5 separate regions of the Homo sapiens genome follow, and all the other regions are linked to region 2. Evidence: promoter capture Hi-C in 16 types of primary human blood cells and fetal thymus (Javierre and others, 2016). All regions are on one chromosome and are shown on one strand. Each heading gives the region's core, a stretch centred on a gene start or on the middle of the fragment in contact. The rest is flanking DNA. Distances are from core to core; before and after follow the strand shown. Region 1 has its middle 25 kb from the start of LACC1. Region 2 holds the start of SMIM2 (small integral membrane protein 2). Region 3 overlaps TSC22D1 (TSC22 domain family member 1). Region 4 overlaps TSC22D1 (TSC22 domain family member 1). Region 5 overlaps TSC22D1 (TSC22 domain family member 1).

Region 1 (2,820 bases), core at 144-2,643, 260 kb before region 2:
CTTTACCACAAAAAAAAAAAAAAAAAGCCTAGCATGGTGGCACATGCCTGTAGTCCCAGCTACTTGAGAGGCTGAGCTGGGAGGATTGCTTCAGTTCAGGAGGTCGAGGCTGTAGTGAGCCATGATTGCACCACTGCACTCCAGCCTGGGAACAGAGTGAGATGCTGCACCCCTCCCCTGCCCCCCAAAAAGGAATATGGGAGTCATATGCCATATATATTAACATGGAAAACAAACAGTTCATATACAGGAGGTCCATAATTTGCAAAATACAGACAGTAATGACTTAACACTTTTCTACTAGAACTGCTAAACAACAACTATTTAAAAGAAGGAGTTTACTCTTAGATTTTCCGTTATATTAAATGGAATCTGGTTGGCATGATGATTCCTTTAATGAAAAACTACATAGTTTCCATCCACTGGCATAAGAGTGGAATAGAAATGTATAGCTAAATAACAGTTTATGGTCCATACTTGCAATATCATAGTCCATTTTGGGAAGTAACACCTAAACAAGTTCAGAGGAAAGCAATACTAATGGTGAGAGATCCCAAAGCCATATATGATCATGGAGGAATGGTCTCAAAGGGATTAGAAATGATTAGCATGGAGAAAATAAATCTCAGTGGCATAACATAGCACACTGCAGGTGTCTGACATACAAAATACCAAAGAGATTGGAAAACACAGAACCAATTAGTGGAAATTATAGGAAGGCTGATTTTGGCTTTGTATGAATGTTAGGAAAAACAATTGCCAATAGGCCTTAAACCTCCCAGAGCATTTTTTCCTGGGCATACCAAGAATGCAAAGCTTTGACCTTTTTTTAATGCCACCATTTTTCAAGATTGTGTTTGCAGAAAGCAACCTTAAGGGATAAGTTTAGGTCCCACTTTGGGAAAAAGAGCCACCTTACTTTCTGCTTATTATAAAAGCAGTGGATTCCCCAAGCTCAGTATTCCTAAGACACAAATCCACTATATGCACGAGATATACCTGGACCCTTCTATGGTGCCTCCATGGGACATAAGGAGAACTTACTCAAATATGATGTTCATGCTGCTTGCTAAGCATGAATAATGAAGTCTTCTATCTCATGTCTTCCGCCAACATTTAAGAAACAGTGATAGGCTAATTTATTAACTTGTAAGTATGGTGAGGTCAAGAAATCTCATACCCAACAATGGAGAACACATTAGTTAGCAGATTTCCTATCCAGAAGTGTTCACATGTGGATGTGTAAACTTCTTGGAGAAGATGATGTATAAACGTAGCAAAAAATAAAGTTTCAGACAAGTAGTTTTTCTTAGACTTTCAATGTTATTTCAGTTCCGTAAATTGTATTATTCCTTTTTAGGAAACACAAATATAATTGGACTTATCTACAGAATACCAGGACTCCCTAGGAAGTCTCTACATAAATATGGTCTCAATATTCATTTAAATGACCCAAATTCCATCCATTGTCTGCGTGTATTTCCACTCTAGTAAACCTTTAGTAGCTTTCAGATAAAGGGAAATCCAAGATTATTATGCCAAAAGTGTAATTCTCTTAGACTTCATGCCAGAGTTCTTAGCATCCAAGGCAGTCAAGATTACCATATCCAAGGTATATACTACCAATATGACTTAGTATTGTTGATCATATGACTGAGGCAGTGTTTGCCAAATTTTTCCACTGTCTAGTCTCTGCTATGACATCCCTCTTCCTTCCTTACTAGAAGTTGAGTATCTCTGATTCATCTTATTGGAAATTCACTGACATTAGTTTTATTAATATTAATAAGAAGTTAGTATCTATAGTGTTGGTAAGCACACATAATATTTTTCTCCCATTGCCAAAAGCCTCTGGTAATATTTATCAGAATACTTTGAAAATGTGTATTAAAGTCTAGTCTAGAATTTTGAATGAGTGGTGTAATTCAGTTTGGGATTACATAGGATCTATGGCCTTCACTGAATGCAAGCAAAGCTTTAACACTAGCATCATAGTCAAAACCTCTTTGTCCTCTTCGTTCGCAAATGCTTTGTGCATCACACAGATATATCCACTGGGTGGCAGTATGTACTCAAGAATATTTACTGTTTCTAGTTGCCTCAATCTAACGGAATTTAAAGATGTCAAACTTTTTTTATCTGGAAAATAGCCATTGTAGTGAATCTTAAGAAACAGTATTGTCTGAATGCAAGCTCCTCCCTAGAGATGATTATGGAGATTATAATAATGTTAATATTATATACTTCCTACCATTTACTCTCAATCATATTCTTTCTTCTGCCAACAATACTCTTAGCATGAGAACTGGTAAATACCTATTATCCTACCTCTTATTTCTGTAACCTATCTCTTAGTTCTAAGGAACTTGCCTGGTGATAGACTTTTCCCTTTCTCCATTTTGTTTCTTAAATATCATACCCTCTCCACAGTGAAATCAAGAGATAGACCTTTAAGCTTCTGTATAGTACCATATGTACCCCTTTAGTTCTGCACTACCTCCTAGACAAATAGAGCAGATTCTAGATATTCACATAGTCTTGCAAAGTCATATGGTTCTCTTTCACTTAAATTAATTCTGTCTGAAATGCAGAATGGCACCAATTAACTTGCTCTACGTAAGATTGTCTTCAATGAAGAGAGGGAAAACCTTCCAAGAAATTAAATTGTGTAATCAGGTAGGACTACAACTATGAGAAGAAATCACAAAAATAAACATATTTTAAAAACTGAAAATAAAATACTAACTTAGTTGTGTTAGATGGTGAAATTATGAAAGCTTTTGTTTCCTTTTTCTGCATTTGTGTAGTTTTTCCTATATT
Region 2 (3,031 bases), core at 202-2,701:
TCACGTATACTAATGCCGACTATTTACGCAAGCACATTTCTCCAGGTGGCCTGGAGCAGTTTACAAGATGCTGGCTCATTCCTCATCATGCCACTTGGAAGGAGAGCAAAAGGTGGGGAAAGAGGAAGGGCCAACATCATCATCTGCATTTTATGTGGGGAAACTGAGGCTCACATAAGCCGTAAAGTGAAATGTATAGACATTTATGAGTCAGAAATCGACCATGGAAGAGGCAAAATGAGCTTATCTGAATCATGAGTGGACTATTTCTTGCCCAACAATTTCATGCAGCTCTTCCAACACAACTGTTTTGATACAGCAGCCTCAAAACAAGCCAAAATTCAGACTCGCTGTATTTGGTTTATAACCAGTTTCCCATCTTTCATTCCTTCTCTGACTTCTACCTGACTTCTGAATTTGGTTGACCCTGTTTTTTTGTTTGTTTGTTTGTTTTGTTTTACTTTAAAAGACCCTCAACCCTCCTGGAGTCCTGACCTGCTATTTCTTTCATTTTGAACCTCTACCAGTCCTTTCCTTCATCTGTTACCAATCCATACACCCTTGATGCCTGGAGGTAAGATTGACAATGGAGGGGGGGAGGTGAAGATCAAGGTTGAGGTGAAGCTCACAGATGGCCTGCAAGATGCCTATTTTACTCATCATTTATTTTTTAAAAAGCTGAACATTTATCGGCTGAATCTTTGAGCCATACCAAAATATCCTCATGTCAAAATAGCTGCAGTAAAGTGGTTCTATTAAAATAGCTGCCTCCAAAGAACTGAGAGTGGAGATGTCACCTGCTTCTGGCACCTGACTTTGGTCCTCTTCTGCGTGGCATTGCCTTCTGCTCTGCTGGATTCTGGCGTATGGCTCATCAGAGGAGGCACTAACATCAGGGCTGCCTTTTATCTTGCTGATCCAAGCGAGGACTATGTAGGTGTCACAGATGAAACTCGTCCAGAAGCCGAACAGGATGCTAATGGCATGGCCACGTGTTTCCAGCACCCTGTGAGGCAGCTGGCTGGCATCAATCCTCTCCCCAGCTTCCATCCCACCCCCATCCACCCATAAGCTCTTCTTGGGTCAGAAATGCAATTCTTTGATGGTGCCAGACAGCCAGATGATGCTGGAAAGAAGAAAGAAAAAGAAAAAGCAGGTTTCTAAATTAAGCACAAGGCTCGTTTATAAAAATAAATAGCCACAGCCTAGCAACGTGCTCACAGCTCAGCTTTCCTCCGTAATAAAACCTCTGTGGCTGAAGCCTGGGATGACACAGCCTTCAGAGGGCCCCACGCCCTGGCCCTCCTCATGCCCTGGCCTCTCCCAGGATAATACTCACCTGGAGAGTGCTGACAGTGGTACTTTTGGGGCCCCACTCTTCATTCAAGGCCAACCAAAGGCCAGGCTCCAAAAAGCAGAAGGAAGGCAGAGCTTAATGAGGCCCATGAACACTTACAGACTCTTGGCAGTAACTAATACACCTGTAGCAAAAGTGGTTGAAGTTCCTTGGGCTACTCTGTTGAAATAGGAACTTCTAGTTAAGACCATGTCTTCTTTGTTCACCATTGAACAGTACTCAGCTAAGCACAGGGCACGTATTGAGTACTCAACCAGTATGTGAGGAAAGACTGGTTAGAGGTATAAATGAATGAATGAATGTTGCCATCCCATTATTGATGCTCTCCAAACTCTTCACTACAAATGGAGTCAGTTCCAGAATCCAAAGCCAGCATTCTTCTCCTGATTATGACATGCACCAAAGAGGCATCCCCTGAGCTGGATGTTTAAATCAGAGCCCACAGCTGAAGTGAGCACCAAGATGTACTGAGCAAGTGTGGACTCTTACTGATCCAAGTGGTGAGGCTCTTACAATGGGCAAGGGCAGAGGGCATGCGATATGTAGGTAACTATTGTTAGCATTCCTGAATCTTCTCCTGTTCTTTAGGCAGCAGCAGCTTCAAGGGTGAACTGTTGCTCAGCAGAGAAATGGCAGGAAAAAATAGGACATTCGCTTCTGGCCTTAGTCCTGTTGGAACACAAAAAGTGGAGTCTGCAATGCTGTTGGAGGCTCAACAGGTCAAATACATCAGTAATGGGCATGGTATGGCTGGGGTCATACGGAGACAGTCCTTAGAGCACTGAAAATGTGATCATCCTGAATCCCATAAGGATCCTTATGAGGTTAGAAGGGACAATGTGGCTCCACTTTGATGACTGACAGCAGTTGCTTTGGTGAGTTTCTACGTATTCCCTTGTGATCAGAGAGTGGTACAGGACAGCATGTCAAAATCGTAAACCACCATCTCAGAGCAAGGCCCCTTAGTTACAATATTAAAAAGATCAGAGAAATTGGCACATAGCATCATTTAGAAATCTGTCTTCAGGCATCTTTGTCTGGCCTGGCTGGAAATAGTAAAACCATATTTATGTCATTGAGAAAAAGGTTCTTAATTAAATTCAAATGTATAAGAATATATCGTAGGTCTATTTTTGGAACAATAATCTGGGAACAAAAAAAAATCTAAACAGCAACAAAACTTGTACAATAGCATTTAGCTTCAGACAGCAGCATACAATAGAGAAGAAGGAGTCCTCATAGACTCTGGACTCTTAGATTGATTCAATCCCACAAGCTAGAGCACCAAAGTCATGGCACTGGGACATTTAGGAAGAGGAACTCTAGCAGTGACCTGATTAGGAGACAGCTCCAGCAGAGAGTCAGCACATAGACTGGCCAAGCTGCCCCCAGATCTTTGGTGATATCTCTTTGGTGGAGATAAAGGAAGCCCTTTCCAAAGCAGACCAATTATGGCATCCACAACCATAGTCCCTGCTCCAGCCTAGTGAGGACACAGTATGTTCCATAAGTCCCTAAGGCTCTATGCCCAGGGCTCCCACTTCTGACACGGCTGCTCAAGGATAAGACCCCACTGACCCCATTCTCTATGGAGGGTACAGAAATCCATAAGAACAGAGCCCAATACTCAGCTCTGTGACCTTAACTACTTGGAAACTGATTTTCTTTGTTCAT
Region 3 (3,190 bases), core at 533-3,032, 290 kb after region 2:
TGGGAGAGTAGCCTCTACCCAACAAGGAGACCAAGACAGAGAAAGTGATTTAACTGTGGAGGGAGCGGGGAAATGAAGAGATCAGGTCAGCTCTCCAATGCCAGGCACCCTAAGGTGCCAGCAAAGAGCCAGCAACTGCGTCCTTTGAGAAAGCTCATGTGGATGGCAGCCTCACGAAATGAGCCAATGGACAGTCCGTTAGACAGAAACAGACAGACGGCAGCTGCAACCGTGACAGAAGCGGGACACTGCAACAGTCAGCACAGAGACTCTGCCCCTCGGTTCTTCCTTCCCACCTCCATGCTAGCGCACTGCTACTGCCAAGAGGGAGGGACGCGTGTGAGAGCCAAAAACAGCCTCCACTCCAAGGCGCCAGTAACAGACTGGGTTCTTTTTTTCCTTTTCAGGGAAAGAGTGGGCAGAGAAGAGAGAGCTTTGATTCTGACATGAGAGTCAAATTTCAAAATGCAAAGAACGAAGTGTTTAAAAAATGGTAAGTGACTGTTTAAATGACCAAAATTAACTGGAAAGCGATGGAAATGGGTCGACATGCTAGTAAGGAAGCCTGCTACCAGAGTGAAAGGGTGATTCAACTGAGCACAATTAATAGCAGTTATTAGGAGAAATAAAAACAAACCATGACATGCATATTTCTCACCAATGAATTGAGACTTTAAGCAAATGGCTCTGGAGGGGATCCAGAAGAATGCGGCATGAAGCCACACGCTGAGGATCAACTGTGAGATGAGGCCATATCATGTCAGGGGCTGAGCAGACCCCAGTGAGCTATAGGGGGCACAGCCCCTTACCTGTGGGGCTGTTGGGGCCACTGCATGCCCGTATCTATCCCACCGATCACCAATAGGACATCCGCCATGGCTGACCGAGGAGAGGACTGCAAACTCACCAAGGGCTCCCTGGCAAGGACACCCCTGTCCTTTCCCACTTTTGCGCTCCCAGCCCCACATCAGGGACTTGTTCAGTCAGGAAAGCAGGCAGGGGACAGATATAGATGGAAACAATCCAGGTCCTCTCATGTCAATTCCAAATTGCTAGAGACACAAGCTTAGTCCGACTTGACAGAAGAGGAGAACTTTGAACAAAACACGATATAAAGCTATCAAATAACAGAACTAAGCCTTAAGAACCCAAATGAGGTTAAGTAACGAGAAGTAACTAACAAGTCATGGAACTAAATAAAGTGAGATGTTGTAAGGCAACCCCAATGTATAGCAAAAAGGAGTGGCAGAGTTGGTGGCAACTACTCGAAAAAGGAAACTGCCGCACACTCATACCCCAGTTAATCTTTACTACTCTGAGGCGGTAGGTACCATTCTTTTCTTCATTTTAAAGTTAAAAAGTCTGCTTGAAGTTTATGGCCTCCTCTGTGCCCGCCCACCTGCCTAATGTGTGGATGACACCCTACAGTGGGCACGAGGGTGAGGGCAATCATATTTGCCAGTGCTCCCAGAGCCCGAGCACAGGGAGCCTGGGCCTCTGCGCCTCACAGGGCCCCATGCCACCACTGTCCTCATGGCCTGGCTGGGCTACTCATGGGGAAGGGTGAGTATGTCTTACAAAGTAACTTGGCTACACTCTAGGGACGTCTGCTTGCCTTCTGACAGCCTGGTGATGCCCCCCCAGTACCGCCAGCTGCTGAGTGACCATGGGCCACTATCCATAGGCTACACCCAGGGAGCTGGGAACAGCCAGGAGCCCCAGTGAAGAGTTGGGGAGAGATCAACCCTGCCTACGTGGAGTAAGAACAGAATAAAGAGACTAAATCGAGGCATTATTCACTCTAGAAAGCTGGTAAGGTAAGTGCTTGGCTAAAACCGAACAGAGTGCCATATCCTTGCTGCTTTTGGCTTTAAAGGTTTTCCATCTTTTTACAAGATGAGAAGTTACAGTTCACCTCCCCTGTTTCGATGAAACTCTTGTTTTCAAAATGCTAACAGGTTGGTTTTTCCTCCCATGTTTCACCTGGCTCTGAACTACAGTCTCACAGATTGAAAAAAGATTTTGCAGTTAATTAGAATTTACATTTTCAGTAGTTAGGAATTACCCAAGTTATTTTTTAAGCATTGATTTAAAAGGTGCATGTAAAGTTATCTCAGCAAACTAGTTTGCCTCTAAGATACCAGTGTCTCCCTTTAACCTTCTCCTTTGAATATGTTTCTGTGCCCCAAACTGTTCTGTTAAGCTAATACAACCATAAGGATTTTGTTTCAATGCATACTAACAGCGCACTTAGTAGCCACTCCTCGTTTCTGCTTAATATAACTTTTTTGCATAAACATATGCATGACTATTAGTGCACTGAAGTCAATTTTTAAAATGCACAAGTTATAAATACAGCAGAATAACCTACCAAACTTAACAAGGAACACCCAAAATTTTCAAACTATCAGTAGATTTCGGTTATGCATACTTTAAGTTGATCAAAACTGGAAGAAAATAACTGTTTATATCTTTATATGTATTTATTACTTGATGCAATAAAGCTTATTTTCATTAACACAAACAAATCTGATAGTGGTCAGACAACTTACCCAAGGAGACATATGTTTAACAAATGGCAGAGCCAAGATCCAAACTCAAGTCAGTCGGCTTTGGTACAGGGCATGACTCAATAATCTAGCAGAACCAAAAAGTGGGCTATTTCTAGACACCCCAGAAATACGCAGTTCAATTAATTTAGTAAAAAACTGACACCTGTCCTTAAAATAGTAAATGTTACTTCTAGTCATCATGGCTAGACACCTTCAGACAATTTATATCTAAAATATACAGATTTATCAGAGTATTACACGTATGTTTCTAATAAGAAATGCTCCTAATTGAAGATGCTTCAATTTTACTTAATGATTTTGCATTGGTTTGAAGGTAAAGTTAAAACATAAAGGATTAATTTAGTCTGGTGTAGAGGGAATGAATTCCTTTGTTTCATTACCCAAATTAAATACTACATATATTTAAAAATTCAGTTGCATTATTTTGAATAAAACAAGATGTTTTACAAAGGCCATTAAAATGATGTTGGTGACAAAGCATAAGTTCCATCACCTATTACGTAACCCAAGTTAGGGTAATGCTGCACAAACACATAAAACTGAATACCTCAAATACATATTGCTAGTAAAAACAGAGTTAATTCTAAAAAAACTTTGGCTTTAATACATTAGATTGG
Region 4 (3,229 bases), core at 730-3,229, 310 kb after region 2:
AAAAATGTGCTTATTTGAAAAAATATTAATCAAGATAAAGTTATTTTAAAATATTAAATACTCATGCTGACATTAGCTAAAATGCACTGAAATTTGTTTGAAATGAAATTATTTCTCAGGTCAAAACTAAATTATCTCTTCCAACATAAGATGTGGAAATGCAATTGTGTAGCACTTGGATCTCTTGATAAACTCTTACCATCACACTTTCCTTTCTGACAGTTAAATAGCCGGAATGTTAAATAAATAGAACTGCAAAACTTACTAGATAGCATTGCTTGATCAATTTTTAACTACAAGTAGAGATTAAGTATGGTAAATTTCTATATCTTTACTAAACTTATAATTTTTAGATTGTTCAGACTCTTCAATGAACCTAAATAGACTTAAGTTTCTTAACATCATATTGACGTATAAGAGAATAGTTCTAAAACAGTGAATTAAAATACAGAACCACTGGCAGTTTCAGAGCATCATCTACAATAATTACTTTTAGAAAATTGTTAAGTGATGACTAAGTCTCCTTTGACAAATAAAATATTGAAAGCTTATCCTGTGAAAATATAAACTACCAATTACAGGAGTCCTCCCTTATCTGTGGTTTCACTTTCCATAATTTTAGTTACCTATACTCCAAAAATATTAAGTGGAAAATTCCAGAAATAAGTCATAAATGTTAAATTATGTGCTGAAATCCTCCCTTTGTCCAGCAGATCCACATTGTATACACTACTTGCCCATTAGTCACCCAGTAACTGTCTCAGTTATCAGATCCACTGTCAGCGTGTCAAAGTGATTGGAGGATTCAAGTAACCCTTATTTTACTTCATAGCCCCAAAGTGCAAGAGTAGTAATGCTGGCATATTGTTATAATTGTTCTATTACTGTTGTTGTTAATCTCTTACTGTGCCTAATTTATAAATTAAGCTTTATCAGAGGTATGTATGTATAGGGAAAAAACATACTGAATATTGGTTTTGATCCTATCCTCAGTTGCAGGCATCCATGGGGAGTCTTAGAATGTGACCCCTGGAATAAAGAGGGGTCACAAATGCAAAGATAAACTGTGGCATTTTTCTGTTATACAGCATCCTTTGAATTCTTCTATTTAACAAATACTGGTCATCTCTTTTGTCTCACAACTTGAGAACTGTTCCTTTTTTTTCATATGAGACAGCATGTTTTACTTTGCACACTGGTATCAATCCTTCAGACACTCTCAACCATTGACATATCTGATTTCTGTCTCCCCTCTCACCCACTCACTCACTCAACAAACATATGAGGACCTGCTATGTGTACCAGGTCCCTAAAACGGAAACATGAAAAAGCATAGTCCTCGCCTGTAACCCCAATATTGTGGGAGGCTGAGGTGGGCAGATCACTTGAGTCCGGGAATTTGAGACCACCCTGGACAAAATGGTGAAACCCTGGCTATACAATTAACCGGTTGTGGTGGCATGTGCCTGTAGACCCAGCTACCCTGGAGGCTGAGGTGGGAGGACTGCCTTTGCCTGAGCCTGGGAGGTTGAGACTGCAGTGAGCCATGACCTAATCTTCAAGGAAAGGCAATTTTCTTTGTTTTGAGGTATATATTTTTGAACATTCCTTCTATCCCTCAAATTCTTCTCAAAATAAGCTCCACATCTAATTGTACAACTGCAGTAGTCCATTTTCATGCTGTGGATAAAGACCTGAGATTGGGCAATTTAAAAAAGAAAGAGATTTACTTGGACTTGCAGTTCCACGTGGCCAGGGAAGCCCAATTATGACGGAAGGCAAGGAAGAGCAAGTCACGTCTTACATAGATGGCAGTAGGCAAAGAGAGAGAGCTTGTGCAGGGGAATTCCTCTTTTTAAAACGGAATTGCAGACCCAATGTACATCTTTTATTCAAACTGATTAATGCATTTTTAGATTTAAAATATTAAATTTATTAAATAATATTAAATCTACCAATCACTCAAGTATTTTACATTCATTTAAAACTATACAACTGGAGGCCAGGCACAACGGCACAGGCCTGTAATCCCAGCACGTTGGGAGGCCAACGCAGGTGGATCACTTGAGGTCAGGAGTTTGAGACCAGCCTGAGCAACATGGTGAAAACCCATCTCTACAAAAAATACAAAAATTAGCTGGGCATGGTGGCACACACCTGTAGTCCCAGCTACTTGGAAGGCTGAGGCAGGAGGATCTCTTGAGCCCAGGAGGTCGAGGTTGCAGTGAACCAAGATCATGCCACTGGACTCCAGCCTGGGCGACAGAGCAAGACCCCTGACTCTAAAAATAAAAAATAAATAAATAAATAAAAATAAAACTGTACAATTGGATGAGTACTTTTGTCAGCATGCAAATCAGTTTAAGTTATACAAACAGTAGAAGCAGTATATATGTGTGTGTGTGTGTGTGTGTATATATTTAGCATAGATGTATATATTTTTAAATTAAGCTAGTCAGGCCAGCTTTATTAAGCATTCACAAAAATCCACATTTCAAAAGAACCATGCAACTGATGGTTTACATATAATTTGAGGACCTCTATTCCTAAGACAAACTAAAGTACAGCTAACATCATCTTTAATTATAGACTAATTAAGCTAATGTTTTCTGATAGAAAGGCTCAATATAATACTCAATCTTTTACAATTTTAAGCCAATTTGTAATGGCTTCAACTGAGGAGTCCAACAAATTAAAAAGCTGTTATGCAACTAAATGTTTAAAGATCTTAAGCTAAAAAAGGACTATACAATTCATCTCAGTTAACCAGTAAAAAATTTCTATCATGATCTCCAAATAATCCTCCAAGTGATTTTTAAAATAGCTTTAAAATTTTTCCAGCTGGGAAAAACAAAGCAAAGAACTAAAATGGCTGAACTGAACCTTATTTCACCCTCCAAGCTGAGTATTTAGAAACCAACTGCTTTTCAAGGTACTAGGCAGGACTTAGGACAACTGAGAGACAATTCCTTCCACAATTATTTGAATTACAGTGAGGTACTCACAGCAGGATTATCACTAGACTATAGGAAAAGCTTCACGCTACAGACTATGGTGGCTTTCTTGGGCCTCTCTTCCCACCCAGGCCCAACTGACACTCCTGGTGGACAAACAAGTGCTTCAGGAAGTAGTCCCAAAATTCCATCTGTCCCCTAAGGCAGTTTCTACTTAAAGGGGCAGTGGTCCAATTTATTTATGATGACTCATTACTTCAAAGAGAACAAAAATA
Region 5 (3,165 bases), core at 666-3,165, 270 kb after region 2:
ACTACTATTACCAAATACTAAATCAAAAGCTATTAGAAAATAAAGCTGCCACACCTTTATCCCTATGAAAAATACAAAATTAAATATATAAACAAACATAAACAAGCAGATGAATGACTCAGAAATAATAGTAATGGTTAACACTCCTTGAACCCACCTCACTCTGAACTGTCTCTGTGCTGACAGCTTCCCAGCATCAGCCTCCCAAAACCCCTATGGAGATAGCATGTCCCCATTTTAAGCATGAGGAAACAGAGAACAACAAGGAACTTGCCTGAGGTCACTTAGCTAGTAACTAGCAGAGGAGCTAGGATTAAAACCAAATTAATTTTAGCCATTAAGTTAAATGAATAAACAAAAACAGTGCACGCACACACACACACACACACCCTCCCACCAAAAGTTCGAAGAATAAAATAAAGTCATTATCAGATGCAGAGGACTGTAGCATCTGTGGCAAGACAGGATCTTTGTGACCTGATCCAATCCTTATTTCACAGGTGAGAACTCAGGTCTGAAGGATTCCATTCCTGGTCCAAAGGTCAAACAGCTGATGACTGCAGGGCCAGGCCTAGCAGCCAGAAGCCTGCCTCTCAGCTCAGGGTCCTCCCACACACCAGTGCAGGAACCTATGGCACTGTCTGCTTCCAAGTTCTATCGGTGGGCACAGATCTCCACTTGCAGGCAATGTTACCTAAGAGGGAGAGGAAACTTGATTTTCTCTGCCTCCATTTCTAAAAATCGTAATGCCACAATTGCTGCCTGAATGGATTTGAAGTTGACATCTAAAAGCAGTCATGTTGTCAGCCCCTGGTAGTTTCAACTACTTATTTTACACAAAGCAAGAGCAGAGTAGTGTCTATATAGATTAATTTTCATTCCTAATTTTAGTTATAATTAACTTTTATACATTTCTTGTATAAATTTAAAGCTGTTCTGGCATTGCATATTTATTCCATAATGAAAAATAAAAGTTCTCTTTTAAAGTATGCAAAAAATGCACACAATTACTGAAATATGAACACTGTTCATTTGAAATACAAAGTAGACGTTCATTCAAATCCATGTAAAATTCCTACTTCTCCTTCATTGAACGGGGGTTTCTCCTGCTGCAACTGATGTCATGAACACTCAGTGCTGGTACAGCATGCCATTCCCCTTAAAAATCTTTCCTTCTCCACAGAACATAAGTGCAACATAATCAGTTATATAATAACCCACAGGCCAATAAGACCTACACTCAGGTCTATAAGCAAGTAGCAAAATGCCTTTTTAAATTACCTTAAATATGTTTAAATATAAGTCAATCATCTCAAGTATGTTTAGTAATTACTAAAATGAGGAACATGTATGGAAAGACATCTTTTAATAATTCATTCTTATTTCACAAATATTCAGCTGCCAAAATTTCATGAGTCTCACATTTTTAATAAAAAGACCCAAAGTTCCATTAAATAATGGAGAAAAAAACTTCTCCACCATCTTAATACACTGACATGAGATTTTTCAAATTTTCCACGATTACCACCTATGGTATTTTAAAGATCTTCATTAAAAACATAAAAAATGAAATGGCTAGGGATTTCTATTCACTATAGTTTTTTCAAGGAAATGTAATTACTACGTAAGTATTCCTTTATTAAATTTGAAGTTATATAACCAACAAGCCAATATGAAAGATTTTTCTTTACGTCCTTTTCAAATTCCCCCAAAATATCTTTATGACAACTGCTATCAGCCTATGGCAGTGAGCCATCCATCATTTCAACAGGATGCCCGTGTCACCACTTTATAACACATGCACGCTATCGAACAATTCTTTTTAGGGATCTTGGATGTCCCATTCACCTCTCAATCTCCCACCAGCTCTAGATGAGAGAAATGAATGATTCAGAAAGTTTGTCCTTGTTCTGCAAGGACTTAAGACAAGCCTTAGAACTTGGGATTGGTCCAATTCCTACTGGGCAGGGGGCCACTGCTGAGGCCCTAGGTTGATAGATTACAGAGCCGGTAAACCCACCCCATTCACTTGCTCGCTCACGTTACTCCTACTGCAGAGTGGGATCCCTCAGGCTCACTCCTCAGGTGCCAGGGGCCAATCTGCCTCAGGATTCCTTCGTGGTTTTAATTTTGGCCTGTTTTATAGTCATGCAGAATCAACTGCAAGGACATCCTTGCTCATCTGGTCCCACCTCAAATCATCTTTTGCTTAGACAAAACGAATTATCCCAGGAGCTAGAAACTCATCCTACACTAGGAGAAACATCCCAACCCAGGGTGACAGGGTTCTTAAAGTGGAAATCAGCTTCTCCAACTTCCGTCTTTTGATCCTAGATCTGCTTATTCCAATTATACACAGAATAAGGCTCCTTCTTCCTCTCAGTTCAGTAAAAAATTAAGATTTTCAAGGACTCCTAGAATTTTAAAGCCAAAGGGGAATGTAAGAGATCATCTCTTTCAAACCCCTACATCCGTCCAGGAGTGAAGCAACCTGTCCAAGTCACACAGTAGTTAGAATTGAGCTGGACTCCTCCACTGTCTCTTCTCTTACCTGCTGAACAACTCAATGTGTCAATTTCCTTTTACTTCATGCAGTCAAATCACGCCCCTACTTTTCCAATCATTCCACTGCCCTTCAGGATTTTACTAGTCAAATTGTTAACTTTACCTGGAAACAGTTGTGGAAATGACTGCCATTATGTTAACAGGGTCATATGAAAAACACTTGTTTATCAACATTTATATGCTTTATTGAAAGTTGACAAGTGCAACAGTTAAATACAGTGACACCTTACAATTGTGTAGAGAACATGCACAGAAACATATGCATATAACTACTATACAGGTGATATGCAGAAACCCCTACTGGGAAATCCATTTCATTAGTTAGAACTGAGCATTTTTCAAAGTATTCAACCAGCTCAATTGAAAGACTTCAGTGAACAAGGATTTACTTCAGCGTATTCAGCAGCTAGATTTCAGATTACACAAAGTGAGTAACTGTGCCAAATTCTTAAAATTTCTTTAGGTGTGGTTTTTGTCATGTAGCAGTTTTTATGTAGATCTATATATAAAAGTCCACACCTCCTCAGACAGCCAATGAAACAACTAAATTTCAATCTGTACAACCTAAATAGTAGTTACAGTCCTCTATTGTACAAAATA

The links. Contacts are between HindIII fragments. The CHiCAGO score rates a contact against its expected background, and 5 or more counts as called.
Region 1: a contact is called between a fragment that was not itself captured here and the fragment with the promoter of SMIM2 in region 2, in 3 of 17 cell types (M2 macrophages, M1 macrophages and erythroblasts). The highest score is 5.8, in M2 macrophages.
Region 3: a fragment that was not itself captured here is called in contact with the fragment with the promoter of SMIM2 in region 2 in 7 of 17 cell types (erythroblasts, M2 macrophages, endothelial precursors and 4 more); the score reaches 9.9 in erythroblasts.
Region 4: a contact is called between a fragment that was not itself captured here and the fragment with the promoter of SMIM2 in region 2, in 1 of 17 cell types (M2 macrophages). The highest score is 6.3, in M2 macrophages.
Region 5: a fragment that was not itself captured here is called in contact with the fragment with the promoter of SMIM2 in region 2 in 12 of 17 cell types (M0 macrophages, M2 macrophages, M1 macrophages and 9 more); the score reaches 9.2 in M0 macrophages.

What each region holds. Positions count from the first base shown.
Region 1 is chr13:43,903,577-43,906,396 of GRCh38, forward strand. No RefSeq gene overlaps it. Among named protein-coding and RNA genes, the nearest start is that of LACC1, 25 kb to the left of the region's middle. The HindIII fragment of the contact is 1,159 bases long and covers 815-1,973 here.
Region 2 is chr13:44,159,806-44,162,836 of GRCh38, forward strand. It overlaps SMIM2 (small integral membrane protein 2), which reads right to left and starts at 1,452. Exons shown (of 3, transcript NR_197392.1): 1 at 1,340-1,452; 2 at 798-1,126. RefSeq lists an enhancer at 1-583. The HindIII fragment of the contact is 6,510 bases long and covers 1-3,031 here.
Region 3 is chr13:44,451,011-44,454,200 of GRCh38, forward strand. All of the region lies in intron 1 of TSC22D1 (TSC22 domain family member 1), which reads right to left. It overlaps LOC124903167 (a long non-coding RNA gene), which reads left to right. Exons shown (of 4, transcript XR_007063778.1): 2 at 408-493; 3 at 1,626-1,817. Among named protein-coding and RNA genes, the nearest start is that of TUSC8, 47 kb to the left of the region's middle. RefSeq lists enhancers at 1,005-1,506, 1,507-2,006. The HindIII fragment of the contact is 1,439 bases long and covers 1,064-2,502 here.
Region 4 is chr13:44,471,213-44,474,441 of GRCh38, forward strand. The region is part of intron 1 of TSC22D1 (TSC22 domain family member 1); the gene reads right to left. Among named protein-coding and RNA genes, the nearest start is that of TUSC8, 67 kb to the left of the region's middle. The HindIII fragment of the contact is 2,108 bases long and covers 926-3,033 here.
Region 5 is chr13:44,430,794-44,433,958 of GRCh38, forward strand. It overlaps TSC22D1 (TSC22 domain family member 1), which reads right to left. Exons shown (of 3, transcript NM_183422.4): 3 at 1,350-3,165. Among named protein-coding and RNA genes, the nearest start is that of TUSC8, 26 kb to the left of the region's middle. The HindIII fragment of the contact is 4,737 bases long and covers 1-3,165 here.